Regions from separate parts of the Homo sapiens genome. Here all the other regions are linked to region 6. The links are contacts of gene promoters, found by promoter capture Hi-C in blood cells and fetal thymus (Javierre and others, 2016). All regions are on one chromosome and are shown on one strand. The core of a region is centred on a gene start or on the middle of the fragment in contact, and the rest is flanking DNA. Distances in the headings are between cores, read along the strand shown. Region 1 overlaps GRAP2 (GRB2 related adaptor protein 2). Region 2 has its middle 25 kb from the start of TNRC6B-DT. Region 3 overlaps FAM83F (family with sequence similarity 83 member F). Region 4 holds the start of ENTHD1 (ENTH domain containing 1). Region 5 overlaps GRAP2 (GRB2 related adaptor protein 2). Region 6 holds the start of CACNA1I (calcium voltage-gated channel subunit alpha1 I). Region 7 holds the start of TNRC6B-DT (TNRC6B divergent transcript).

Region 1 (3,918 bases), core at 1,324-3,823, 360 kb after region 6:
AGAGAAGAAAGATAATAGAATGAGCTGAGAATCCCTGCCAACATTATATTAGAAAGCCACCTACTTCCTGCCTCTCCTCACCCTCCTTACCTATACAAACTTACCTTCTGCATCTTTGTCCTCCTTCTTTCCCATTCAAAGGGGAGATGCGTCTCCTGCTGAACAAATGAACTCCTCCGCATGACCAAGGTGTCCCATCCCTCCCTGCTGTCTCCAAAGGTTCAGTCCTGCTACATAATCTCTCTAGGTGAATTCCTTCTTACTCAGGGTTTTCACAATCATCTATATTGGAATAGCACCCAAATTAATAGCTCTACCCAGACTTTTTTATTGAGTTCTATACCTGCATAGCCAATCCTTGACTGGGAGTCTCTACATAGATCATTCACAAGCATTTCAAACACCCCTTTAATTATCTCCTCTTTCTGTATTCCCTTATCTCAGAAAATGCTACCAACATCTACCCTAATGCCCCCAGCAGGAACTCAAGAGTCGTTCTAGACCTATGCTGTCCCAAGTACTTCAATGTGGCTTGTCCAAATTGAAATGTGCTGTAAGTGTAAAATACACACCAGATTTCAAAGACTTAGTTTGGAAAAAATAATGCAAAGTATCTCAATAATATTTTATATTGATTTCAAATTGAAATGATAATATTTTGGACATATTGGGTTAAATAAGTTATTAAAAATAATTTTCTTTTACTTTTTAAAGTGCCACCAAAATATTTAAAATGGCATAATGGCTGGCATTTGTGACTTGCATTCTATTTCTATTGGATAACACCATTCTAGACTCTTTTCTGTCTTTTAGCCCCCTTCCAACTGGTCATAATTCACAGTGATTCCCTTGAGTTAAGACAAGGGAGAATACTGTTTAAGTGCACAGGCTGAGTTTGAATCCTGGCTCCACCATTTTTTGATACATATGAACTTGGGTGATTATTTAACCCCTTTGAGCTTCACTTTCCTCATCTGTCAGCTGGATACAATAGCAGTTCTTATTTTGAGATTCTTGCATGCTTTAAATGAGATAATGTGTAAAGTACTTACTATGGAGATAAAAACATGTGGAAAGACCCAGTGTCAAAAGAAAGAGCATGATCTGTCACTGTTGTAGTTCAGGCCCTCATCATTACTAGCCAAGACTACTGCGATGCTTTCTCCATCTTCGGTTCACCCTGCCCTCCATTCCTTCATACTGCCATCTGATTAAACATTCCTGAATGCAAATGTTTTCAAATGTCCAATGACTTCCCATCATCCTTGGTATGAAGTCCTAAGTCCCTGGCATGCTTTCAATGTCCTCCATGATCTGCCCCCAGTCCAATCACTGATCCCATCTCCTGCCAGTCCATGATTGAACCAGTTGGGTCCCCAACTCCTATTTGCACACACCATTCTCTCTGTGTGTCATATATGAGCTCTCTACTCTGCCTAGCTACTTGTCTGCAAGACTCAGTTCAATTGTCACCTCATTTGGGAAGCTTCCACTAATCCCTCCTGCACCTGTCTCCGTCCTAGGCTAGATTAGGAGCCTGCCCTTTGGGTTCCTGAACCACTTGAGGTGTGGTTCCTTTATCATGCTGATCTCACTGGTTTGGCTGACTTGTTTTTCCTACAAGACTGAACTGTCTGAGGTCTTAAGATGGGCTGTCTAGTCCACACTGGATCTTCATGCTCTACACAGGGCTTGACACAGAGTGGGGCACAGGAAATGTTTGTTGAACGAATACACAAAGCATATGGATACTCCTGAGAGAGAGAAGGTGGGCAAGACAGCCTTGTGAAGTTAAGCAGCAGAAAATCTGAAAACGAACCTGGATAGAAATCACCAATTCCTGGAAGTACAGAGAGAGGAAGGAGAGAGAAGAATCTGTGCAAGGAGTCAGTAATGGAGGACTTGAAATGAAAGGCTATTAAAGAGAGAAGATCATTCAAACAACAGAACCACATTTGGTACTGTTGGTGGTTTTGTAACTTCCTCTGAAATGGTTCCAGGAAGAGACAAGGTTCTAGGATGGTGCAAATCATATAAAGAAAGGATGGGGTATTATAAGCCAATTCAAGGATTATTTGTCATCAGGACTAGATACATGGGTGGTACAAGTAAATGTCAACCTGATGACTACACGATGGGACTAGTAATAATTTACTGGGGCTGGTGCCCAGGAAATTTTTTGCTGTGGTGCAGATGCCAAGCATGGAAAAATTTGACGAGTTATAGGCATGAGAAAGTAGATGGCGAATTTGAGAGTAACAATGTAAAATGCCAGAGTAATCACAAGAGAAATGTCTGAATATGTAAGAGAGTTTAGAAGATTTCTGCTTTACCACAAATACGGACTTCAAGAAAAATTCCCTTATAAGAACAGAAATTCCAATATATAAAACTTATTTATCAAAACACACAGTATTCCATAATATATAATGGTAAAAGCATGCCTTTTGACCCACACAATATTAAAAGCAGCAAATAACACAAGAAAGGTAGAGAAAACAGAAGGTACAACATTTTGTGGCTCACAGGATATATGAGTGAGATTATATACTTCTATTCCAAACCACAACCTTCACTAGAACATCTAAAGGCTTCATTCTAGAACCTTCATACTGCTTATCCCAAAGGCTAGCCCACTCCCCGGTTTTCATGTAAGAAATCTTGTGGGACAGGCGTTGCATGAGGTGAGGGGCAGCAGGGAAATTCGAGATGAAAGGGTGAAAAGATCAAACGAGTCCTTGCTATTCTTCTTAACAATGCTTCAGTCCACCACTTTGAGATTTCTGTGGAGAAAGTAAAGATTTGGGATATACATATACTAAAACAACTATTGGTTGCTTATCTGAAAATTAACTTTAGCTGGGCATTCTGTATTTTATCTGACAACCCTACTTGGTGAGGTGTACATTTTCTTATTCATACTTCCTGCGAGCCACAACATGTCTTAATAGTTGTTAGCTATTAAGGACTATGCATAAAAGTGACAATAGCTGGCTGGGCACAGTGGCTCATGCCTTTAATCCCAGCACTTTGGGAGGCTGAGGCAGGAGGATCACTTGAGGCCAGGAGTTCAAGATCAGCCTGAGCAACATAGGGAGACCCCTGTCTCTACAAAAAAAAAAAAAAAAAAAAAAAGCTGGATGTGGTGGCATGCACCTGTAGTCCCAGCTATTTGGGAGGCTGAGACAGGAGAATCACTTGAACCTGGGAGTTGGAGGCTGCAGTGAGCCCTGATTGCCTCACTGCACTCCAGCCTGGGCCACAGAATGATACCTGTCTCAAAAAAAAAAAAAAAAAGTAGCAATAGCTAACAACTATTGAATTATTGAGTGCCTACTATGTGCCAGACACCATACTAAGTGGATTAGATGGATATTCCACATATTCTTCCCAAGAACATTATGAGGCAGGCACTATTATCATCCCTGTTTTTAAAATGAGGAAACTGAGGCTCAGAGATGTTAAATAACTTGCTAAGGGTCACTCAGAAAACTAGTAGTAGAGAAGGGTTTGAATGCTGGCAGCCTGACTCCAAGGCTCATGTGCTTGCCTACCTTACCCAGATGGCGGCAGCACTGAGCAAGGGGTAGATAACTTCAAGTCCCCTGGAAGAATAAGAGAAAGTGAGACCATGGGGTATGAGGGGGGCAGGCCCTGAGTAAAGCTTTAAAGGAGCAGTTGAAATTAGACCCGGTGCCTTTGTTTAAGTAAGAAGAATGTGCTAGTTCTAAACAGATGCAGCCCCATACTGGGACTCACAGCTTGATGAGAAGCGCACTGGATGCATTTCAGCCCTTACTGCAACCTCAGCCTGAGGCCTTTATGCAGTGAGCAACCTGCACAACCATACATAGCAATGTGAGTTTGATGGGAGAAGGAAGACCAGTGCAGAGACAAGGATGTCGATGGAGTGCTTAG
Region 2 (3,915 bases), core at 595-3,094, 500 kb after region 6:
TAGTAGGAGAATTGGCTCCTGTGATTATGAAGGCCGAGAAGTCCCACAATAGCCCGTCTGCAAGTCGGAGAACCAGAGAAGCTCAGGCGTGTCTCAGCCCAAGTTGAGAGGCTTAAGAACCAAGGAAGCCAGTGGTGTAACTTTCAGTCCAAGGCTGAAGGCCTGAGAGCCCCAAGAGGCTGCTGGTGCAAATCCCAGAGTCCAAAGGCTGAAGATCGTGGAGTTCTGATGTTCAAGAGCAGGAGGAGGAGGGAATCCCATCCTGGAAGAGACAGAGAATGCACCCTTCTTCTACAGGGTTTTTCCATTCAGGCCCCTAGCCAATGGGATAGTGCCTGCCCACATTGAGGGCAATAGTCTCACTCCCCGACTTACCTGTCAGTCTCCTCTGGAAACACCCTCCCAGGCACACCCAGAAGCAATGCTTCACCAGCCATCTAGGGATCTCTCAACACAGTCAAGTTGATACCTAAAATTAACCATCACAGTGGATATGTTATGTCATTAACCAAAGAATGTCCATAGAACCAAGTAGATTGGAATATACACTCTATCATATGCCACCTTAATCACTGGGTCAAATTCTTTTTTGGGGGAAAGAGGTTAAAATTGTTTTTCCATAGTCTTTGTTTTCCAGCACCCTAAGATCCTATTAACCTCATCCCACCCCCAATTCAGAAAGATAAGGACTTTAAAAAAGTATTCTTATGGTTTGAATTCTTAGATTTTTAGCTTTCAGCTTTTATTTTCTGTAATTTCATCTTTTTAGTTAACTGTATAGTTTCACAGTTCCTTTATAGTGAATAGTGAACCTTATAGTAGATAGAGTGGATACTCTTTTACTTACGTGGTTTGTTCTTTTGTTTTGTTTTGTTTTTTGAGATGGAGTCTTACTCTGCTGCCCAGGCTGGAGTGCAGTGGCGCAATCTCGGGTCACTACAACCTCCGCCTCCTGGGTTCAGGTGATTGTCCTGCCTCAGCCTCCTGAGTAGCTGGGACTACAGGCACGCGCCACCATGCCCAGCCAATTTTTGTGTTTTTAATAGAGACGAGGTCTCACCATGTTGGCCAGGCTGGTCTCGAACTCCTAGCCTCAGGTGATCCTCCTGCCTTGGCCTCCTGAAGTGCTGGGATTACAGGCGTGAGCCACCGCGCCTGGCCTCTTGGTTTGTTCTTTATCTGGATGTTCTTGTTTAGTATCTTAGTAACTTTTCGTTGTCTTGTTTTCTTTTCATTTTCTTTCAATTCTGTGTTTTGTTTAAGTAAAAGGAAGGTTACAACAGGAAAATCTTCTTTTATTTTTTATTTCTACAGATGAGGTCTCGCCGTGTTGCCCAGGCTGGTCTCAAACTCCTGGCCTGAAGTAGTCCTCCCTGCCTCAGCCTCCTAAAATGCTGGGATTACAGGAATGAACCATTGCACCTTGCCAGATTTTTCTTTTAAATCCATATATATGAGGTGGACTTTTTACCTTGAAATTTGCATTGAAATTTTTAATTTTTATTTTTGATTAATTTAGAATTCCATACATACTATTTTTATGACCACATATTTTTCATGGAGAGTAAAAACCACACTTTAGTAAACAATAGTGTAAAGGTAGCATTATCCTTTGTTTCCAGGACCTAGCCACAAATTTGCTATGAAAGTTTTTTGTTTTTGAGACAGTATCTCGCTGTCTCGCCCAGGCTGTAGTGCAGGTACAATCATGCCCCACTGCATGCAGCCTCAAATTCGTGGGCTCAAGCAGCCCTCGCACCTCAGCCTCCTGAGTAGTTGGGATCACAGGTGCACACTACCAGGTTGACTGATATAAAATTTTTTTTTTTTGTAGAGCTGGGGTCTCCCTATGTTGTCCAGGCTGATCTCAAACTCCTGGGCTCAAGGGATCCTCCTACCTCACCCTCCCAAAGTGCTGGGATTACAGGTGTGAACTACTGCACCTGGCCTAAAAGTTGTTTTAAGGAATATTTTGTGTTATTTTTCAGTCTTTAGTTTCTTTGAGTATAACTTTGTAAGAGCTTTTTTTTTTTAATTTTTTTTTTTTTGAGATGGAGTTTCGCTCTCATTGCCCCAGCTGGAGTGCAATGGCGTGATCTCGGCTCACCGCAACCTCCGCCTCCTAGGTTCAGGCGATTCTCCTGCCTCAGCCTCCAGAGTATCTGGGATTACAGGCATGTGCCACCATGTCTGGCTAATTTTGTATTTTTAGTAGAGATGGGGTTTCTCCATGTTGGTCAGGCTGGTCTTGAACTCCCAACCTCAGGTGATCCACCCACCTCGGCCTCCCAAAAGTGCTGGGATTACAGGCCTGAGGCACTGCGCCCGGCCGAGAGCTTCTTTTAGACAGAAATAATTAGGGGTTCTTTTCTATACCACACATTTATTAAAAGAGATTTTCACGGCTATCAGTTATGAAATGAGGTTCCTATTTGGCTGGAGTGTTTCTGGCATGTTAGTTGTGTTGTAGGAGGTGGGGAGTTGGGAGGATTGGTGTATATTAAAAGAAAAAATTTTAACTAATTATGTTTTATGTAGGTACAAGTGTTGTATTTATGTTTATTAAAGTGTTCATTCTGTGCCTATTTTTTCGTATCTTCTAAAATACCCTTCATTGTAATTAATTATAGGTTGTTAGTTTTATGTCTTAGTTCTTGCTTTAATCTGGCTTTATAGTTTTTTTCTCTAAGAGAGACATTTGAGTTTTGCGTGTTCCGTGTGCCTTTGTCATTTATTCGTATAATAAAATCGATAAGTAACTGGGCTAAAGTATATAATTTTCATTTCTTGTAGCTGTTCTATTACTTGACTTTTATTTTGTGATTTAGTAACTTCTTGGATTTTGTGACTTTTTATTTGATTTGATTCTTTTAATGACTTAAATTGGGATTTATTAACTTTTGAAATTAATGTTCTTTGATACATCAGAAAATCTCATGCTGTTTTTCTTTAAACATAAAAAGAAAGGGTGAAGCTCGTTGACAGAGATCTGCTTTTTTAACTTTGTCTTCACTCCATTCTGATACCATCTGCTAAAGGCTGATTTCAGTGTTTCCTTCAGAAAGAAGTTAAAATAAGACTTAATGTTGAAGTGGAATAAAATATTGTAACTAATAATACAGTTATATCTTTATAGATATTCAAAGTAGAATATTTTAAGTTTGAGGAAAAGAATTAGTTCAAATTAATTTACAGGTATTTTAAGAAAAAAATGGTATATTTCAGGAAGGTTGACAGGATCATTTTAATAAAAACTCATTTTTAGGTTCACAATTCCTTATCAGAAACTCTTAAGGGCCAGATGTATTTTATAGCTCAGATTTTTTTTTTTTTGAAAACTAATAAGATGCACTTACCATATGTTATACAATGCCCCTGCAGGGTCAGAGGCAGCACTTCAGAGTCAAATACATTAGTATTTCAGCAGCCAAAGCTATGACTAAAGTCTAAAGTGGGTAGACTATAAATAGTTTCATGTCAGTTCAGGTCAGACCTTGCCACCAATTAAATTCCCATCAGGTTTCACCACCAATGAATTCCAGAAAAGTTTTGGTTTTCAGAAGTTTTTGGATTTTGGAATTGTGGGTAAGGGACTGTAGACTATTTACTTTCTTAGCTCTAATGTTTGCTAGCATTTGTTACTCTCTGAAAATGGAACCCACTTTCCTTTTTTTTTCTGCTACAGGATGTAAGATTAAATCTGTTCTTTCTCTATAGGCCAGTTAATAGAAATTAGGACACCTCTTCACAAAGCTCAATACCTTAGGCAGTTGCCACTGTCCCCTGATACCTCCACTAGATACTTCCTACTCCTTGCTGGCTTTATATGAAGGATCTCATAGTTCCCCTCTTCTCCTCTCTCCTTTCGGAGGTACCTCGTGTTAATAAATGCTAAGTAAAAGAGATTTAAAATGT
Region 3 (3,697 bases), core at 456-2,955, 450 kb after region 6:
CCTGTCACATGGTCAGAGTATGGGTTTCTGCAGACACTAAGTGCTTAAAAAAATCAGAAAAGAACCAATACAGAGTAGAATAATATTCATAATAGTGGCAGCTGCAGTTACTATTTTTTAAATGTGTGTTTGTGCCAGGGACTGAGCTAAATGTTTTATATGAGTTACTTCATTTGTGCCTCACAACAACCCTGTGAACATATGTCCTGGGAGCCCCAGCTTACAAGGCACATGAGAATATAAACCAGGTTTAAATGCAGGCCTGACTTCCCATGCTCTTTCCCTGCACCCACTGCCTGCTTGCTTCATTTGAGGCCAAGCTCTGGGGAAAGGGAGGCTACGGGTGGGTGGAGGGAATCAGTCCAGCGTGTGGCCCACAAGGAGCCGTACACCTGCAGCAAGGGTCTGGCCACAGCGGAGGGGCAGGTGGGGGCGGGGGCAGGGCAAGAGAGAGGCCTGGGCACATGTGTCTTGCTTTTCTGTCCCCACGTTCCCAGGTTCACCTGGAGTTCCTCCCATGTGGACAGAAACCTCCTCCTGCTCCTGACAGGACAGAACGTAGAGCCCTTTGACACGGAGTTCCGGGAGCTGTACGCCATCTCCGAGGAGGTGGACTTGTACCGGCAGCTGAGCCTGGCGGGCAGGGTTGGCCTCCATTACTCCTCCACTGTGGCTCGAAAGCTTATCAACCCCAAGTACGCCTTGGTGTCAGGCTGCCGCCACCCGCCTGGGGAGATGATGCGCTGGGCTGCCCGGCAACAGCGGGAGGCGGGCGGCAACCCGGAGGGGCAGGAGGAGGGCGCCAGCGGTGGCGAGTCGGCCTGGCGCCTGGAGAGCTTCCTGAAAGACCTGGTTACGGTGGAGCAGGTGCTGCCCCCCGTGGAGCCCATCCCCTTGGGAGAGCTGAGCCAGAAGGATGGCAGGATGGTCTCTCACATGCACAGAGACCTGAAGCCCAAATCCCGAGAGGCACCCAGCCGAAACGGCATGGGAGAAGCGGCCCGGGGGGAGGCCGCCCCCGCCAGGCGCTTCAGCAGCAGGCTCTTCAGTCGCCGAGCCAAGAGGCCTGCGGCGCCCAATGGCATGGCCAGCTCTGTCTCCACCGAGACCTCTGAAGTGGAGTTTCTGACGGGGAAGAGGCCCAACGAGAATTCCAGTGCTGACATCTCAGGTGAGCCCTCTTCCCTCTGGCCTGGTGCCTCCCCAGGCCTCTGGCCCTCGCCCCGCATCGGCTCTTATCCAGGAGCACTGCCTCATACCTGCAGAGGAGTAGATTCCATCTGTGGGCACAGAGAGGGCAGGAGCTCTGGGGTTCCGGGGTCCTTGGTTCCCATTCTGGCCCCGGCCATTAGCTGCCTGGAGGCCTTGGGCAAGTCCTGCAGCTCTGAGTTTCATTTTCCTCTTCTCTGAAAAAAGAGAAGGATTCCAGGCTTGGCATGGAGGGGTCTCAGAGCTTCTAATGCTACTGCTAGAAGGCATTCAGATCAGCCCTCATGGTAACCCAACAAATCAAATAAGCTGAGAAACTTTCTCCTTTGTAAGTGAAGAAACGGGGGCTCTGCACAGTGGGGTGCATGGCTGCAGCTCGACCCTGGCTCTGAGTTGAGGGCTCTTTCTAGCAAACCTTTTCCCTTGCCAGATCACCTATTGTCAGGATCTCACCTGGTTAGACACACCCCACCCTCCCCTGTACCCTACTGGTGCCCTGACCCAGTTTCCTGTCTCTGTGACGGGCAGTCCGACTTGGTTTCTCCACGTCCCTCTGCTGAGTGCTGTCTGCCCAGCTGCTTGTCCCTGGGTGGGATTGTTCCATGGCAGCGTCTTTCTGGGCATCTCTCTGGGATCCCCAGGAGGCCCTGGACTTTATGTCTCTCTCTGCAGCAGTCTCTGGGGTGGCCTTTCAGGTGGCTGGTGGCGGTGCCTTTCTCATCTCTGCATCCCTGAGTCAGGGGACTTTCCATGGTGGGGTTTCTCCCTCCATCGCTGTGGAGCCCAGTGATGAGAACTGGGCTCTGGCTGGCCAGGTGGGCGATGGCAGGGCCTGAGGTCTTGTGTGCCCGGCCCAAGGGCTTCCAGGACTCCTGCATTCCTGCACACCAGCTTTAACCGGATTGTGATGGTGTGAGAGCAGGGAGCACAAGTGTCATCCCCTCTGCTAATTCCCCAGCACTGCTTTGGAGTCTGACACATTCTGTGCTCAGGAAATGTTGGCTAACTTTGCTTCTTGGAGTTGGAACAGGCCTGGGCGCCTCTGTGGCTGTGGGCACAGTGGGAGTGTCAGGGCGTTCCTTCTGTTTGGCCTGGAGACGTTGACTGAGCTGCTGGCTTGCCAGGTCCTGCACAGGCACTCTCTCTCCCCTTCTGCCCCCACAACCACCCTTCAAGCACAGAGGTGGCAGATGGCTCGGAGAGGTGAATGAAGTGGTCCCAGGTCACAGGAAGTGGTAGTAAGGCCAGGATTCAAGACCAGGCATGGGCACAGCCATGTTCTGTCAGGGGAGGGGTGGCTGGCCCCATCCCCATTCCTCCTGGGCTCCCTGGCTCCCCTAACACCAGCTGCTGCTGCTGCTGCTGCTCCTGCTCTGTACCTCTGGTTTGGAGGAAGGGTTGCCATGGTGAACACCTGGCAAGGGAGCGAGGGGAAGAGGGGAAGGAGGTGGAAGAGGGGAAGGAGGGGGCGAGCCGACAGCAGCAAGGACTATTTCCCGAGTCCTGACTGAAGTGGAGTGGAAGCTTTCTCTTCCTTCAGCCCCTCGCCCTGAGATGCAGTTTCCATGGAAACTCAAAGCCCATTGTCTTGTCCCTTCCCGCTGCCTTCTGCGTGTCCCTCCACATCCATGTCCCTGCTCCCACATCTCGGGTGGTCACGGCGGCCCTGCCCCTGCTGCCGCTCTCTGGTGTCTGCACATGGTGCCCAGGAGCCAGCCTTGCAGACACAGACGGTACCCTTGGGAAGCTCCTCTCCAGGGCACCTGATGCTGGGATAGAGAGAGAGAGGGAATAGTGAGGGCGAGGGCACGGACAGCCAGGAAGGTCCGGGGATGCCCGGAACCATCATCCCGTTCCTTGTCCGTCCTTTAGACGAACACAGAGCAGCCTCCTCCGGTAAGGCTTCTGCCCACCTGGGTGGGCGCCCAGTACCTGCAGTCCTGAAATTCACGCACCTTTCCTCTCCCTCCCAAGGCCTGAGGGAGAAGCAGCAGCTCCTCTCCTGTCTTTTGCTGGTTTTGTTTGTTTTTAAGACAATGTCTCGCTGGAGTGCAGTGGTGCGACCACAGCTCATTGCAACCTCAACCTCCTCGGTTCAAGCGATTCTCCCACCTCAGCCTCCTGAGTAGCTGGGCTCACAGGTGTGTGCCACCATGCCTGGCTAATTTTTTAAATTGTTTGTATAGACAGGGTCTCATCATGTTGCCCAGGCTGGTCTCCTGGCCTCAAGTGATCCTCCTACCTCTGGGCCTCCCAAAGCGCTGGGATTATAGGCACAAGCCACCGCGCCTGGCCAGGAGCTCCTCTCCTAAGAGGCCCTTTTTCACGGCCTCCAGCTTCCCACACCATGGCCAAGTGGGGCTGCTTCAGTGTCTCCCCTCAGGCAGCAGCAGCTAAGCAGCCAGGACTGCATGTGTGAGAAGGTGGGCCCCTGACAGCATGGGGCACCCACCGTGGGAATCAGTGAGAACCTGAGCTCCTGCCTTTG
Region 4 (3,778 bases), core at 735-3,234, 320 kb after region 6:
GCCCAGCTAATTTTTTGTATTTTTAGTAGAGACGGGGTTTCACCATATTGACCAGGGTGGTCTTGAACTCCTGACCTCAAGTGATCCGCCTGCCTCGGCCTCCCAGAGTGCTGGGATTACAGGTGTGAGCCACCGTGCTTGGCCTCAAAAAAAATTTTTTTTTTAGACACGAGTTCTTATTGGTTGCCCAGATGGTCACAAACTCCTATAAAGCATGATATTAAAAAAATAAATAAATAAAATCTAGCTCTCATAATTGTCAAGTAAAATTCTATAGTTTTGAGCAAATATTTTCAAATCATCAACAGATATTTCTTGAGTACCTACCATTTGTATAGCTTTGTGGAGAAATATAAAACATGAACCTCACATTAAAACTTACCATTCAGTTAAGGAGCTTTCTCTCCTAAATAATTCCCAGCAAAACAAATGATTACGTAGAAAAGGTCTTTTAGTGTTATTTTTAGATCTGCCCACTTTCACAATGCTGTTTCCTTCCCCCCATTTCATCTGAATTCTAACAGGAAATGATTTATCAGCTGGCATTAAACTATTGGTCCACGATCTTTTATCCCAATCCTTTGAGGCCAGATGATTTGTGGAAATTCTCTTTTGGGTGCGGTGGTAGGGGTGGAATTTTCAAGAGTAGTGCCATGTCTATACCATATATTACATGATACCCACAGTAAGGTGTGGAGCTGCTCTGAACAATTAAACACATTAACATGTCTGCAATAAAAACATGTAAATATTTGGAATAAAGACTACAAATGGCCTCAGGCCAAGTTTTACCACCAAATGAGTTGGAGGAAAAGTTGATTTCCAAAAGTTTTTGGATTTCAGGATTGAGAATAAGGAACAGAGGAGCTGAACTGACTTTATCCAAAGACTTGGGACAATAATGACAATAGCATCTAAGAGGCTGAGTGTCCAGAGCTATCTCTGAAAAGATGCATTTAAGGTGGAACTATGAGAAAAGAACAGCTCTTGTGTTTGTACAGGTTCTGCCTATAGACATGAGTTTGACTCGTAAGGAAATGAGCTCTGGCCAAGAATGCTACGGGAAAATGGTTATAGAGACTACCATGCCATTAGGAGGTGTTACTGTTTTGATGAAAAGAATACTGTCAGAGGCAGAGAATCTAATCTTTTCCAGCCCTAAGTGTGTGTTCATTAATTTATTCAACTAATAATCTTCCAGAGCTTACCATGTGGCAGGCTCCATTCTAGGAAATGGAGAAACAGGTGCACAAGACACAGTCCTCACACCCTGGAGTAAACAGCTACTCTTCATTGAACGCTCACAATGTGCTCACACCTGGGCCTTCACATGCCTCATCTCTCTCCTTTAATTAGGATTCAAAGCCATGATTTGAGGTCCTGCTTTGCCATTTCCTAACTAAGACTTAACAACTTCTCTAAGTCTCAGTTCCCTCATCCGCAACACAAAGAATAATCGCCAGACAGGGCCGTGGGGGAGGAAGAAACGAGATGCTTTGGAAAGAATTTTGAAAATGGCGGGTGGAGGCTGAGCAAGAATCAACTTTCTGTGGGCAGGGCCTTTCCTCGGCATCCTCGTCTTCATTCATACAACCCCCACTTCAGATGACGACTGTGTACCAGATGAGCCAGGTGCTGGGCGTTCGGCCACACAGAGAATCAGACCAGCAATTACCCTAGGAGAACCGGCAGTGGAGGGGAAGGCTGGACCTCAGGAAAGCCTCTAGAAGGAGAGAGGGACGTGATGGCGTCACGTCACGCCACAGGGATTTCACCTCCTGCGGATGGTAATGGCCTCGCCGCCCTCCCGCCCCCACCTGGACTCCGACGGTGCCGGCAAGAAACGGGAGGAGGGAAGGCAACCGATGTTTCCAGACCCGCCTTGAGCCCCACCACCACTCCCAAGCAGAGGCTGTTACCTGAGAGGAAAGTCGGCCGCTGCCCAACGACCAAACTTCCTCTCCCCAGGATATTCCACCTACTCCAGCCAGGCTCAAGGGCCCAGGCCGGTCCCCACTTCCGCTTCCTCACTTTCTGGCCTGGTGCAGTTCCTGTCAGGGCGTCAAGCAAGATGGTTGCAGATACCTGAGCTGGAGGGTACCAAGGGGAATGAAGGTAAGTGTCTTCGTTTCACAGGCTGCCGGGCTGTGACACTGCCCTAATCCTCCTTTCAAAGAATAAATTTTTTTTTTTTTTTGAGATCTGGGAAATAGTTTAATCAGACACTAGCATTTATTCTTAGCTGCTTTCTTAATTAAATAAAAATGAGTATAAATTAATTTACTAAATGTTCACAACGTAAAAACGGACATTAAAAAAAGAAAAAAAATGCCAAGGTAAGCTGATAATGTTTTTAAAAAGTAGACAATAAAATAATGTATGTAACTTAAAATTTGCCATGATAATTTATTCTTAAAATGGAAAATCAGTAAAATACTCAGACTTCTAGCATAATATCTCTTTTTTTTTATTTATTATTATTTAAGTTTTAAGGACATGGATGAAATTGGAAATCATCATTCTCAGTAAACTATCGCAAGAACAAAAAACCAAACACCGCATATTCTCACTCATAGGTGGGAATTGAACAATGAGAACACATGGACACAGGAAGGGGAACATCACACTCTGGGGACTGTTGTGGGGTGGGGGGAGGGGGGAGGGATAGCATTGGGAGATATACCTAATGCTAGATGACGAGTTAGTGGGTGCAGCGCACCAGCATGGCACATGAATACATTTTTAAAAGTGTGTTACTACTGTCATTTCAACTGACTAGAAATACCACCAGCACGTGATTGCCACCTCAAAGGACTGAGAATGTAATAGTAGTCTATGAAGAGCAGTGTGTGTGATGGACAATGATGGGGTAGCTCCAGTGACTGATGGCTTCAGGTGCCACTGACGGGTAATTGTTGATGTATTCAACTGATTTTCCGTGAGCACCCACTTTGTGCCAGACAGTAAGGACTCGGAGATAAAAAGCAGCCCTCTGCTGGATACGTTTACAGGCTAGTGGAGGTGACAGGCACCGTCAGAGAAGATTGTAACAAGATATGTATGGCATAGTAAGAGAGAAGAGATCATCTAATTCTGCCACTGAGTATTTAAGGGCAGGTTTCACAGAAGAGTTTACATCTGAATTGAATCTTAAAGGATGACAGGGAGTTCACTGGATAGACAAAGTAGAGGAGGACGTAAGAGGCAAAGGACACATCATGTGTAAAGGCATGAAAGCTGAGCCAGCCTATTATCTTGGAAAAACTACATGTACTGTAGTTACTACAACTGTCACAAAGGCTATTAGTGGAGCAGCAGAGGAAGGTTAAATAACAGAGGGAAGTTGGATCATGAAGAACCTTATCCATACTACAAGGTGATTTTATCCAGTAGGCATTGAAAAATGTAATCGAACCTGTGTTTTAATGGAATATTGACTAGGATGAGGGGAAAAGACAGAGGATAACAAAACACTTAGTAGACAAAAGCAACATTTGTTTCTATCTCCTACTACTTCAGTCATAATTATAATAATAATAGCCCACATTATTGATACTGACATGTAGATAGGTGAATCCAATATAAAATGATAGGAGGTATGAAAGAAGTTGGTGAGTTTGGAATATTATTTGACTGGCTATAATATAGAGTAATGGGGTGGGAGCCAGAGGGAAATCGAAAAGGTGACCTGGAAAACATTGTTCAGGGCCTTGAATGCTATGTTGAGGTATTTTGACTTTATAAAATAGTGGGGGACAAACTACAAGTATTTTATACA
Region 5 (3,551 bases), core at 731-3,230, 400 kb after region 6:
TCTATTGGGGCTTTGGACAATAACATCTGTTGGTAAAAGTCCTGGGTCTCCAGAGTGACGCTGGTGCGTTCTGGGAACTTCTTGCTCAGGCCTGTGCATAGGTATCTGATTTAAATTGCAGCAGGGTAGCCGGGCATGGTGGCTCACACCTGTAGTTCCAGCTACTTGGGAGGCCAAGGCAGGAGGACTTCTTGAGGCCAAGGGTTCAAAACCAGCCTGAGCAACATAGCAAGACCCCATCTCTACAAAAAAAGTTTTTTTAAGCTGCAGAGGGGTCAGCCTTCAGGGAATGTTGCTCTCAAAGACTTGGATGTGGTGGGAGGAGCCAGCAGACCCTCCCCTGCCTGCCCAGCCCACAGCTCAGCAGAGCCTCTTCTGTGCTTCCCCCAACAGCGAGTGCGGTGGGCCCGGGCGCTGTATGACTTTGAGGCCCTGGAGGATGACGAGCTGGGGTTCCACAGCGGGGAGGTGGTGGAGGTCCTGGATAGCTCCAACCCATCCTGGTGGACCGGCCGCCTGCACAACAAGCTGGGCCTCTTCCCTGCCAACTACGTGGCACCCATGACCCGATAAACTCTTCAGGGGACAGAAGCTTTTTGTCTGGAGCTGCCCACAAGAAAGAGGGCAAGGAAAAAAGGCTGGACTCCATGACTATATATACATACATCTATCTACATCTGCCTGTGTACACACACAACTTTTTATACTAGTAATTTATTGGCAATTGGGCTGGTAATTAGTTGATGCAAAAGGGAACTCAGGTGGAGAATAATATTGACACTTGCTTTTCTGCCCCCCTCAGGGGTGTGTGGAAGGCAGTGGGGGAGTTGGGAGGGGGGCAGGGAAATGAAATGGAGTTTTGTCCTGGCCTTCAGCTGTCACTGCTTCCTCCTTGTCTTGGGAATTTTCACGGAGAACAGCTAAGCAGAGACCACACCTCGGCACTGGACACAGAACAACAGGGTGGGGTTGAACTTGGTGGGGCACGTTCTAGCTGACCTGCAAGCCCCGCTCACCTGGAGGGCTTGCAGAGCAGCTCTCCTCCTGTTCTCCAAGGGGTGGGCACTGTTGCATTAGGAATTAAGGTGCAGCCCAGTGCTGCGGGCAGCCAAGCGAGTCTGAGCGGGGATGTGAAGGCAGGACGGGGTTGGAGAGACCCTGCCTGTGCAAGGCTGGCCTCCTAGTCAACACCTAGCTGAGACATTCATCTCTGTTCAAATTAATATTCCTTGGGTCTTTCAAATGAATGTTTCAATGTGAGGAGCGAAGTACTGGGAAATCGAGGGATTTTCCACAATCCCCAAGCAGCTTACTCAGTGGAACCTCTGTTTCCCCAGCTATGAAGGAAATAGCATCCTACATTCCGTAAAGTGCTTGAAGAAGCTCTAGCTGAGAATGCTGAATTTTACAGTCATTGTTTTATGGTTACAAGGGTATGTCTTCAGGGCTCTGTTCATTTTCCCTCTTGATTTTCTCTTTTGAAGATGCCTTGCCCAGTGGCATGGAAAGAAGCCCACTTGATGATAGGAGCCTGACTATGAATTGATTGACTAAACATGACCCCAGGTGGAAGCTGGCTTTGACACCAGCTTCCTGTTCAGTCTGACCACTGCTGTCCTCCTGCTGCCCAAGAGTTGCACCTGGAGCAAGGAACCCCACCATGGCTGTCGCTCTCCATCCCATCACGCTAGAATCATGTGTCCAAGGGCTCACTCTGGAGGTGCACAGCACAGGTCAGCCTGGCCAGGGGCGAAGGAGACAGTAGAGAGGAAGCTCAGGGCCTTAGGGGAGGCCGGGTGCAAACCCGTTCTGCACCAAGTGCACTCGGAGTTTGTGGGTATGGGTGTGTACCCCTGCAGGTGTGCACATGTGTGCTTGCACGCACATATTTGTGCACTCCTGTGTGTATACATGTGTGCTTGTGTATGCATATGTGTGCATTCCTGCATGTGTGGACATGTGCGTGCATGCATCTGTGTGTCTGTGTGTGTGCTGAGACAGGAAAGGGGGTGAAAGTGTTGGTGAGGGAGCCTGGAAGTTTTCTCTTCCCCAACCTCTCTTGCTCTAAGGAGGGATGGGGTTGGGGGCAGCCGTTATTGAAGGTGATCGGAGAAGAAAGATTTTCTGACTCAGAAGTGACTGCCAGTGTAGCACAAGCAGTGTCCCTTGTGACTGTGATTCTACAGTTCTCTGATCCTCATGTTTCCTTTAGAGGAAAGAGGAAAAAAGGAACTCTGTGGTGGGTATTGGGAGGGAAAAGAAAATAGCCTGGTGGAGGCAGGAGGGAGTCGAGTGTGAGTAAGGAGCACCTGCAGCTTTTGGAAGTGAAAGCAGAGAGAGGGAAAGGTAGCTAAGACATCCAGGAGGATCAAGGGGCAGCGTGAGAGGCACAGGGGGAGGAAAGGGAGAGGGTGAGTGGGGCCAGGGAAGAGAACGGTGTGGAGTTGGTGGGCAGATGGTGCAGGAGGAGGGCTGGGCAGTGGGGAGAGGAAGAATCAGAGCAGAGAAACCGCTGCTGCGGAAGGCAGGGAGCAAAGAAGCATAAGGAAAAGAACAGGAGAAAGAACAAAGGCAGAGAAGACCTCCTCAGCTATTTTGGTGCTAGGTAATGTGAAATGCTGCAGTAAATAAAAGCCATAAGTAATGTTTGATTTTACAGTATTTACAAACCATATGCTTTAAACAGCCCACAAACTCCATCCAGTTGTCTGATGATGTGGGAGGACCAGCTCTAGTTAGACGGAGGTATGTGATTCGATTCTGGTGGAGACTTTGTGCCTTGAAAGGCTTCTCAGGAAAGCAGTAATAAAACAAAGTGTCCTTGTTTGGCCAGGCCGTGTCTGGTGTCTGCGTTGCATACCCCTCAGGTAGAGAGTGAGAACGAGACCAGGGGGTGACAGGGGTCATCGGCCTGCAGGAGCTGACCCCGTAGGCAGGCGGTATGAGCAGAGCTTTCAGAACCCCTGGAGCTCGGTGTTCTGTTGTAGCAAAAGCTACTGAAGAGTATTTTGTACTGAGATGCCAAAGCATCTTTCCCTTGCTCATCAGCCTCCATTCAGAAGGAAGCGGGAAAGTCACCCAAACCACCTACAAGGAATGAGGGCTCTTAGCGGCCAGGTAAAGAGGACAAGAACCAAACTGTCCACATTATGGAGGGGAGGGGGAAAGAGAGCTCAACCCCCCTCAGCCTCTGGTGCTGCCAGGGGGAGCCCCTCCGCATGTGTCCCCACGGGCCCTAGTTTCTACCTGACAGCATTTCAGCACCAGAGGAGGGTTGAGCCAGCTCCTCTCACCAGCCACAGAACCAGCAGCCAACAAACACATTGTCCCCGAGTTTGGCTGCAACACTCTATGTGACTTGGGAACTTGAAGCTTCCAGAGAAAAGCCAGGTCCTGTTGGACCAGTTGTTGGGTTTTCCTAACCACTTGCTGTGCCTCACCGCATTTCAAATATCTGGCACCTGCCACTGCCCACCCACTTTTAGATGGCCCTAGGGTGATCTAACCATGGTGCTTCTCAAAATTTAAAGTGCCTACGAATTGCCTGGGGA
Region 6 (3,685 bases), core at 501-3,000:
GTTCTAGGATCCCAGGGACCCCAGTGGACAAAGTTTTAGGGACTAGTACCCTTTGGGGTGAGGTGGTGAGGGGCAGGCCCTGGGAGTGGCTGTCCGTCCCATCTTGCCATTGACTGGTTGCGGAGGCTCTCGGCCAGCGAGGGCACCATCAGTTGTCATGAAGCCCGCCTGGGGGTCTGGTGCTGGGATTCTGGCCTCTCAACACCACCTAGTGCTTCACTTGGCTGGGTGCATAGCCTTGACAACCCGCTTTGTTCTCTTGGCCTCAGTTTCTTCACCTGCCAAATGGGCATAATAGTCCTCCTGAGGTTGTTGTGAGCATCAGACAAGGCCAGGGAGTAGAAGTGCTTTGAGTTGGAGTCGGAGCCAGCAAGATGATTTGCATCACCTAGAACAAAATGAAAATGTGGGACCTCTTGATAAGCAATTAAGAATTTCATGTTGGTGACAGAAGAATTCTAAAGCAAGTTCAGGGCCCTTCTGAGCACGGGGCCCTGTGCAGCTGCCTGAGCCACAGACCCAGGAAGCGGGCTCTGACCGGAATTCTTTTTTTTTTTTTTTTTTGGTGACAGAGTCTTGCTCTGTTGCCCAGGCTGGAATGCAGTGGTGTGATCTTGGCTCACTGCAACCTCCACCTCCCGGGTTCAAGTGATTCTCATGCCTCAGCTTCCCGAGTAGCTGAGATTACAGCGTGTGCCACCACACCCAGCTAATTTTTGTATTTTTAGTACAGATGAGGTCTCACTATGTTGGCCAGGTTGGCCTCAAACTCCTGACCTCAGGTGATCCACCCACCTTGGCCTCCCAAAGTGCTGGGATTACAGGTGTGAGTCACGTGCCTGGCCTTTGACTGGAATTCTATTTCTGCTGTTACTCTGCTACATGTCTGTCCTGTCCCTTCTCTGGGCCTCGGTTTCTTCATCTGTAAGGCAAGGAGGTTAGACTCTAAGATTCCTGGGTTCTCAGCCTTGTAAGGCAGTGGCTGGGAGGTCCCTGGGTCAAGGGCTCAGCTGTAGGTCTCAGCTCAGGGGTTACTTCCTCAGGGAAGCCAACTGTGATTCCCTCCTGGCTTGCCAGCGTTCCCCCAGTCTCTGATTCTGCAGCACCCCAACATTGCCTTTGTAACCTGCATTGTCCTGGCAATAATGTCTGTCTTTACAATCACCTCTTTTTTCTTGCAAGTTTTCTTTACCTTTGATGGTGCAATAAATACATAGCTCTAGTCTTGTAAAAAAGTTAAGATCCCTTCCTTCCTTCCTTCCTTCCTTCCTTCCTTCCTTCCTTTCTTCCCTCCCTCCCTCCCTCTCTCCCTCTCTCCCTCCCTTCCGTCTTTCTTTTCTGTCTATAATTACTTAAACATTTTTTCTCTTAAATAATGAAAGATTTCAAATACAGAAAATTGCCAATAGACAAAAAAAAAAGAGTTAATATCACAATTATATTCTAAGAAGGCTTTATTCTCCCCACTATCTTCGTTTGCCAAAACTGAGGCTCAGCCAGGGTGAGCAGACTTGCCCCATGATCACCCAGCTTGGAAGCAGATTCCAAGTTGGGTGCAGCTGGGCCCTCAGCTGTTTCGTAATCCTCATGCAAGAGTGAGGGTGAGGGGCCTGTGGGGCTCAGGTGGGGCTGTCAGAGCTGCATCCGTCCACTTATTGGTGGAGAGGCAGGTTGGGGAGCATGTACCAGGCCTGTCCCCACCACGTGCCACCCTCTCTGTCTTCCCCAGGGCTCCCAGCTCAGTGTGGACATGGCTGAGAGCGCCTCCCCGCCCTCCTCATCTGCAGCAGCCCCAGCCGCTGAGCCAGGAGTCACCACGGAGCAGCCCGGACCCCGGAGCCCCCCATCCTCCCCGCCAGGCCTGGAGGAGCCTCTGGATGGAGCTGATCCTCATGTCCCACACCCAGACCTGGCGCCTATTGCCTTCTTCTGCCTGCGACAGACCACCAGCCCCCGGAACTGGTGCATCAAGATGGTGTGCAACCCATATCCTCCGCAGCCTCGGCTGATCGGGGCCCTGCAGGGGCTGAAGGGTGGGGGGCTGGATTGAGTCCTGCTGCTCACACCTTGCTCCGGCTGGGAGACCTGAGGTCTGCGGTGAGGCCACTGGGCCTTGGTGGTGGTGAGCGAGCTCAGAGGGTGGGTCTGGGGAGACCTCAAATGGATGAGGACCTGGTGTTCTGCTGATGTGAAGGTTCTGGAAGTTGCTGGTGGCTGTGGGGTCAGTCCAGTGGCTGGCTGGCTCAGAAAGTCCTTGAGTGTGGGCCCCAGACCTGTGCTGGGCTGGGAATGCAGATCAGTCAGACTCTGGAGCCACCTGATGGGCCGTGACCATACAGAGGATGGGAGCCGTGATCAGGAACTGTGGGCGTGGGCAGCGGGGCAGCCGATCCCAACACACAGGGCAGGACTCATTCTCCTTACTGTGCCTCCGAGCAGCCTCTTCCCAGGCCTCCTGCCTCCACTTGCTGCCTCCAGTGGGCTCATGTTCCCCCTGCTTAAGACTGTCATGATTTGCTATGGTCCTGGAGGTGCAGAGCAAAGTCCTAATCCAACCCATCAGGGCCTGTGTGTTCCACCCAGCCTCACTTCCCACCACTTGGCTTCCCCCCTGTGCTCTTCTGAGCCTCAGGGTCCTCTCACTGGCTCTTCCCCCTGTCTGAAAAGCTTTTCCCTTCCCCCTGGACCTGGCCAAATCCTTTGCTACATCCTTAAAATCCCAGCTTAAGCATCACCTCCTCAGGGAAGCCCTCTGGGATTCCTCCTCTGCTTCATATCTAACTGTCACATCTAACTGTGGAATTCTGAATCTAACATTTGCCTCCCCTGGGGTACTGTCAGATGACTGGGATGGGGACCCTAGCACCTGGCACAGTGCTTGGCACATCGTGGGTGCTCTGGCAGTGTTTGCTGGGTGTACATGGGCAATGCCAGAGCTGACTCCTCAATAAGGAAGAGCGTTGGTTGGGTAGAGAGGGTAGTGGGAGGCAGGAGGAGGGCATGGCAGGAGCGAAGCCTGGAGAAGGGAGGAGTTGCAGGCAGTGTTGGAGCCCTGAGGGGCAGAGAGGAGTGAGGTGAGGCTGCAGGTGTGGCGGGAGCCCTGCAGGGCCTTGGAGGCTGCATGAGGGATGGGACTGTGCTCCAAGGGCAGGATTTGAAGCAGGGTCTGGAGAGATCTGTGCTCTGGAAGGACTGTGTGGCACTGGCTTGCAGGGTGAAGTGGGGGCTGGGGACCACTGAGGAGGAGGCTTGGGGACCCAAGCCATGGTGGCCTTGTGGTTTGAGGGTCCCACCAAAAAATGCCCATATGTGGCTCGAGGTTCTGGTGCTTGTGGCCACACAGGGCAGGGTGCGGGGAGCTGGTGGGTCAGGTGCAGGCCTGAGTCCTGCCCTGGAATCCAGGGATGCCAGATGCAGGCTGGGATGTTGAGACTGGCTGCAGGACTGCCAGGCTTCCCTTCTGTAGGGGGCTGAGGTGATCGTGGGCCCTGGATCCCCCTAACTTTTGGAAACCAGCGGGTCTCTGCTGGAGTGGGATGCAGAACTGGGTGTTCCTTGCTGGGTGGGGGCTAAGAGCCTCCCTGCTCCTTCTGGGGGACGGCTCACAGCGTCTCAGGCTTGGTGAGAGGGTCTGCTCGGTAATTAGTTCACCCAGCACTCACTGACATCTGCCCTGGGACACTGA
Region 7 (3,983 bases), core at 656-3,155, 470 kb after region 6:
GTGTATCACTCATCTGCATAGCCTTTGTAACTTAGTAAAAGTGCCTGACATGCTCACTAAACATTTACTGAGTAATTATTTATTTGGGGGCCTTTTACGATCAGAACAATGTGAAGGACACAAAGATGAAAAAGAAACCATCTGCTTCAAGGTACTTACAACTGAAATGTATCAAACAATTACCCAGAAAGTCAAGCACCAACTTAAGTGCTAAAATAGGGGTCCAAGCAACCAACTTTGAAGATTAGGAAGGTTTTAGATTCTGAATGTTTCTCATTCATTGTGTTTTTGAGTTCAGAATCCCCATACTGGAAGGCTAATATGGGGTATGTGCATACAATTTTAAGGACTCACGTTCTTACAACCTATATTAGAATTTGACGCACGATCTTTCTTCTGTCCTTCTTGCAGTTGCCCTAGGAATACATGCCACTTACTCTTAATTGACGTTTATGAAATACCTTGGCTTCATTTGCTGAAAGGCTCTAAGTGTTGAGCATTGTTACTATGTTACAATGGTTGTTTTATTATTAAAGCAGTGCCAAGGAGGTTACACAACAGCTTGGATCAGGAAGTGAAACAAGGGCGGTGATCCCACTGAAGCTACAGGGGATGGGGATTTGGGACGGTAAAATGTTAATTACCCAAGATGGAATGTGGGCTAGAGTCCAGCGTTGTGCTCCTGGAGATCATTTCGGTCGCAAAAGCTCACTGGCAATGGGTCCTAAGCGTCCTGCCCTCCTCTGGCTGAAATGTTGGATTCACTTCGATGAATGCTGCTATAGGGAAAGAACCCAGTGGCCACCAGCCAGGAGCACACGTCTTGCTCAGCATCAACTATCCTGGAAGATTTCCAGGAGCTGAAGGGCTGTTCTCTTTGCATGCAATAAATTATTCATTTCTAAGACGATTTATTCTGTCTCTCTCTTTAGACTTGATTTCTCCTAGTTTTCCAGCTCTTGAGGACTCTCTCCAAAGAATGAGTTGTAGATGGTTGGTCAGGGGTTGCGAGTGGTGCCTAGGCTTCGCATAAAAGGAGGCAGAAATGTCTACCTTAAAGGGGAGAGGAATGGGTCCTGGGGAGGAAGATGTGGTGGAGGCAATGACAACCTTTCCATAGTAAGTCCCCAACAAAGTCACTTCTAGAAACTGACTGAAGACTTTGAGTTCCAAATGAAACGTTTTTAAGATGCTAGGTTGGCTGACAAGTACATCGTCTAAGGTGGAGGCACTAAAGCATAATAAAAAGAGTGAAGTCTCTGCAGTTTGACCCAGGACCAGATGCCAGGCCCACCAACGACTCTGTATCTGGATGACCTTGGGCAAGTTTTCTAAGCTCTCGCCAGCCTTAATTTCCCATCTATAAAAACTGGATACTGCATTACTCCCAGGTTTAACCAGATAATGTTTGTGAAGAAAGCAGCCCAATACTTGGCACAAAATAGGCAAGGGAGTCACTATTATCGTCAACTACTGGCCAAACAACCAGAGTTGACCCCAAATCCCCAGTAAACAATTAACCGTAGCAGAGCGAATCCGGATCTGACGCACCTATTTGCCCAATAAGGTGCCAGGAAATAACACAGTGGAGTCAAACCAATGGTATTAGCCCTTGTTGATGGACGGGCTTTCTTGCTGTTCCACCAATAGCTTGAAGATTTGACTGGGGAGTGACATCCTGACAGTCCAATGACGCACAACCAGCCCACACTCAGCACTTCGGAGGGGATAAATCAAGGAGCCGGCACGTATGGATTCCGTTATAGGGCAGTACTGGTTGGAGAGAGGAGCTTAGGGAAACAGCGCCGAGGCAAGGCACTAATGAGCTAAAAATAAAGAAAAAAGACGATGGTTGCGCCAAGCGACCTCGGCCGCCATCATGCTCTAATTTCCCCTGAGTCTCTCTGGGTCCTCGACCGAGGAAGCGGCCTCTGGGATGCTGAGGGGGTGTGTCCCCACATGATTGGCTCAGGCAGCTCAGCCAATCCTAGCTCGTTAAACGGGAAGCACTTAACCAATGAGGGGCGAAGGCAGCAACGAGGAATTGGAGGGGCGGAACGACAGCTTGACGGGCACAAAAGCCAGCCAGTGAGAGCCGGAAGCATCCTCCCTGCGGCCAATGGAGTGGGGCTCTGGGCGGGCCCCCGAGTGTTTGTGTTGTGGTTTTGGGGGAGGGATGCGGAGGGGAAAGTTTGTTTATTTTGTTTTTAGTTTTTGGGGTCCCCGTGCTGCTGCAAGGCGAAACGGGAGGGAGTGACCCCTGCGCCCCTCAGTCCCCCCTACGACGTCGCCTCCATAGTCTGCGGAGAAGCGGAGACTGCGCGCCTCGCCTCACAGCGAAACGCCGCGCACTCGGAGCCGGCACGGCTCGGCGGTGAGTGAGGTGCGGCGGCCGCGCCGTCCTTCCCCTCCCCCGCGCCCCGCCGGGACGGAGCGGGGCGGCCGGGGGTCGGCGAGGGCGCCCCCGGGGGCGCGCGGCGCGGCCCGGGGCGGTGAGCGGAGGCGCGGCGTGTGCGTGTCCTCGCGAGGGAGCGCGCGTGGGGCGGGGAGCGGGCCGGGGAGGGGGCGTGAGCGCGCGCGGGGCTGGTGCGGCCGGCGGCGCTGAGCGCGCGCTCCGCGGGAGCGGGCGCCGCCGAGATTTGAGTCGAGGGGCGGGGAGGGACTCGGGGCGACGTCCGGCGCGCGGGCCGGGGCGCCCCGAACGGCCGGGCAGGCACTGGCGGGCGCGCGCGCGGCTCCGGGCGTCACGCGCCAGCAGGTGTGAGCTGGGGGAGGGCTTCCGGGTGGGCTGGCCCGGCCGTCGAGTTCGCTTCCCGTCTCCGGGGGGCCTCGGCGCGGGGACACCTTCCCGGCCCGCGGAGGCGCGTCCGCCCCTGGCTGGCGGTGGCAGAGGGAGGCGTCAGGCCTCGGATCCTCGGGTCCCTGCGCAGCGTCCCGGCCTGTGTGCAGGACCTGCGTGACAAGGTGAATGCGTTCCACACCCCTCGCCAGGGCCCTGCGTGTGCGGCCACTTGGGGAGGCGGCTCAGACTCTGGACAAGGAAACGAGGGGCACGGAGAGTGTTTTTACACCTTCCCGTGGTCCGGTGCCCTTCAGTTCCAGACTACCGGTTTATTCGGCTGTAGAGGCTGGACATCCGATCCAGCGAGACACGCTGTAGTGGTTAAAGACGTCCAGTAACGGTCACCTCTAGTCAAGCGCCTTAAGGACCAGCTTATTCTGAATTCTTTGGAATTCAGGTTACCAGCCTGGGACTTTAAGTTCGTGCTTTCTCATGTGTTTTGGCTGTTTTATTACTTTTTAGCATCAGTGCTAGAGATTGAACGAGAGGATGGTGAATTTCAAGTTGGTCATTTGTATTATAATTTAAGCAAAATTATACAAAATTGGTCAAAGATATTTCTTCATAGTGAATAAAACAAGCCAAGAATCAGTGAATGAAACATTAGTGCCCCCACCAACAGTTAAGTATATATATAAAGTGTGTAGAAATGATAGACATTAGCATTTTGTGAAAGTTTACTAATAGAGGTTACTTCTCTCTTCGCTGTGGGAGATTTCAGTAGTATAAGGTTTCTCTTGATTTGGAGAATCATCAGTGATCTTGGCTTCGAAAGTACAGATGTGTTTTGGGTAGTGTTGTGTAAATGCCTCTTATAGAGCGGAACTTTTAGCGCATTGTCTCTACAGCGCGCAGCATTGCTGTAGGCAGGTAGTGGGAGGGCTGTGTAGTGCCCACTTGCACGAAGGCACACTCACCAATATCCAGAATACAAATCAGACTGGCTTGTCCCACGTGGGACGTGGTGATGATGATAATAATACTTTTATATTTTCTTAGTTCTTTACTATTATTAAGGGCTTATCCCAAACACCATTATTTGAGCAGAGTGGTTTCTGATAGGAATTCCGTAGCTGCTTTTCTGTGGTAACATATAAATGTCATGCCCTTGAAAAAGATTTCCCTCATTCAAATGGAAGCA

What was found. Contacts are between HindIII fragments. The CHiCAGO score rates a contact against its expected background, and 5 or more counts as called.
Region 1: a fragment that was not itself captured here is called in contact with the fragment with the promoter of CACNA1I in region 6 in 8 of 17 cell types (megakaryocytes, naive CD4 T cells, M1 macrophages and 5 more); the score reaches 8.9 in megakaryocytes.
Region 2: a contact is called between a fragment that was not itself captured here and the fragment with the promoter of CACNA1I in region 6, in 1 of 17 cell types (monocytes). The highest score is 5.2, in monocytes.
Region 3: a fragment that was not itself captured here is called in contact with the fragment with the promoter of CACNA1I in region 6 in 16 of 17 cell types (M1 macrophages, M0 macrophages, megakaryocytes and 13 more); the score reaches 21.2 in M1 macrophages.
Region 4: a contact is called between the fragment with the promoter of ENTHD1 here and the fragment with the promoter of CACNA1I in region 6, in 2 of 17 cell types (naive CD4 T cells and activated CD4 T cells). The highest score is 7.3, in naive CD4 T cells.
Region 5: a contact is called between a fragment that was not itself captured here and the fragment with the promoter of CACNA1I in region 6, in 7 of 17 cell types (activated CD4 T cells, M0 macrophages, naive CD4 T cells and 4 more). The highest score is 7.9, in activated CD4 T cells.
Region 7: a contact is called between the fragment with the promoter of TNRC6B-DT here and the fragment with the promoter of CACNA1I in region 6, in 3 of 17 cell types (M2 macrophages, activated CD4 T cells and megakaryocytes). The highest score is 5.4, in M2 macrophages.

The regions. Positions count from the first base shown.
Region 1 is chr22:39,929,437-39,933,354 of GRCh38, forward strand. The region is part of intron 1 of GRAP2 (GRB2 related adaptor protein 2); the gene reads left to right. Among named protein-coding and RNA genes, the nearest start is that of TMA7B, 29 kb to the right of the region's middle. RefSeq lists an enhancer at 3,476-3,918. The HindIII fragment of the contact is 2,178 bases long and covers 1,485-3,662 here.
Region 2 is chr22:40,067,457-40,071,371 of GRCh38, forward strand. It overlaps a transcript of TNRC6B not described here. Among named protein-coding and RNA genes, the nearest start is that of TNRC6B-DT, 25 kb to the left of the region's middle. The HindIII fragment of the contact is 4,346 bases long and covers 1-3,915 here.
Region 3 is chr22:40,020,793-40,024,489 of GRCh38, forward strand. It overlaps FAM83F (family with sequence similarity 83 member F), which reads left to right. Exons shown (of 5, transcript NM_138435.4): 4 at 498-1,171. Among named protein-coding and RNA genes, the nearest start is that of TNRC6B-DT, 22 kb to the right of the region's middle. RefSeq lists enhancers at 1,888-2,388, 2,389-2,889. The HindIII fragment of the contact is 2,052 bases long and covers 680-2,731 here.
Region 4 is chr22:39,891,776-39,895,553 of GRCh38, forward strand. It overlaps ENTHD1 (ENTH domain containing 1), which reads right to left and starts at 1,985. Exons shown (of 7, transcript NM_152512.4): 1 at 1,920-1,985. It also overlaps a transcript of GRAP2 not described here. The HindIII fragment of the contact is 18,515 bases long and covers 1-3,778 here.
Region 5 is chr22:39,970,512-39,974,062 of GRCh38, forward strand. GRAP2 (GRB2 related adaptor protein 2) reads left to right here. Exons shown (of 8, transcript NM_004810.4): 8 at 394-3,210. The coding sequence ends at 573. Among named protein-coding and RNA genes, the nearest start is that of TMA7B, 12 kb to the left of the region's middle. The HindIII fragment of the contact is 2,780 bases long and covers 591-3,370 here.
Region 6 is chr22:39,569,003-39,572,687 of GRCh38, forward strand. It overlaps CACNA1I (calcium voltage-gated channel subunit alpha1 I), which reads left to right and starts at 1,751. Exons shown (of 37, transcript NM_021096.4): 1 at 1,751-1,986. The coding sequence starts at 1,751. The HindIII fragment of the contact is 9,228 bases long and covers 1-2,665 here.
Region 7 is chr22:40,042,625-40,046,607 of GRCh38, forward strand. TNRC6B-DT (TNRC6B divergent transcript) reads right to left here and starts at 1,906. Exons shown (of 1, transcript NR_163486.1): 1 at 506-1,906. It overlaps FAM83F (family with sequence similarity 83 member F), which reads left to right. Exons shown (of 5, transcript NM_138435.4): 5 at 1-910. It also overlaps a transcript of TNRC6B not described here. RefSeq lists enhancers at 901-1,548, 1,630-1,929, 2,240-2,359 and silencers at 2,660-2,879, 2,890-2,959. The HindIII fragment of the contact is 12,286 bases long and covers 1-3,983 here.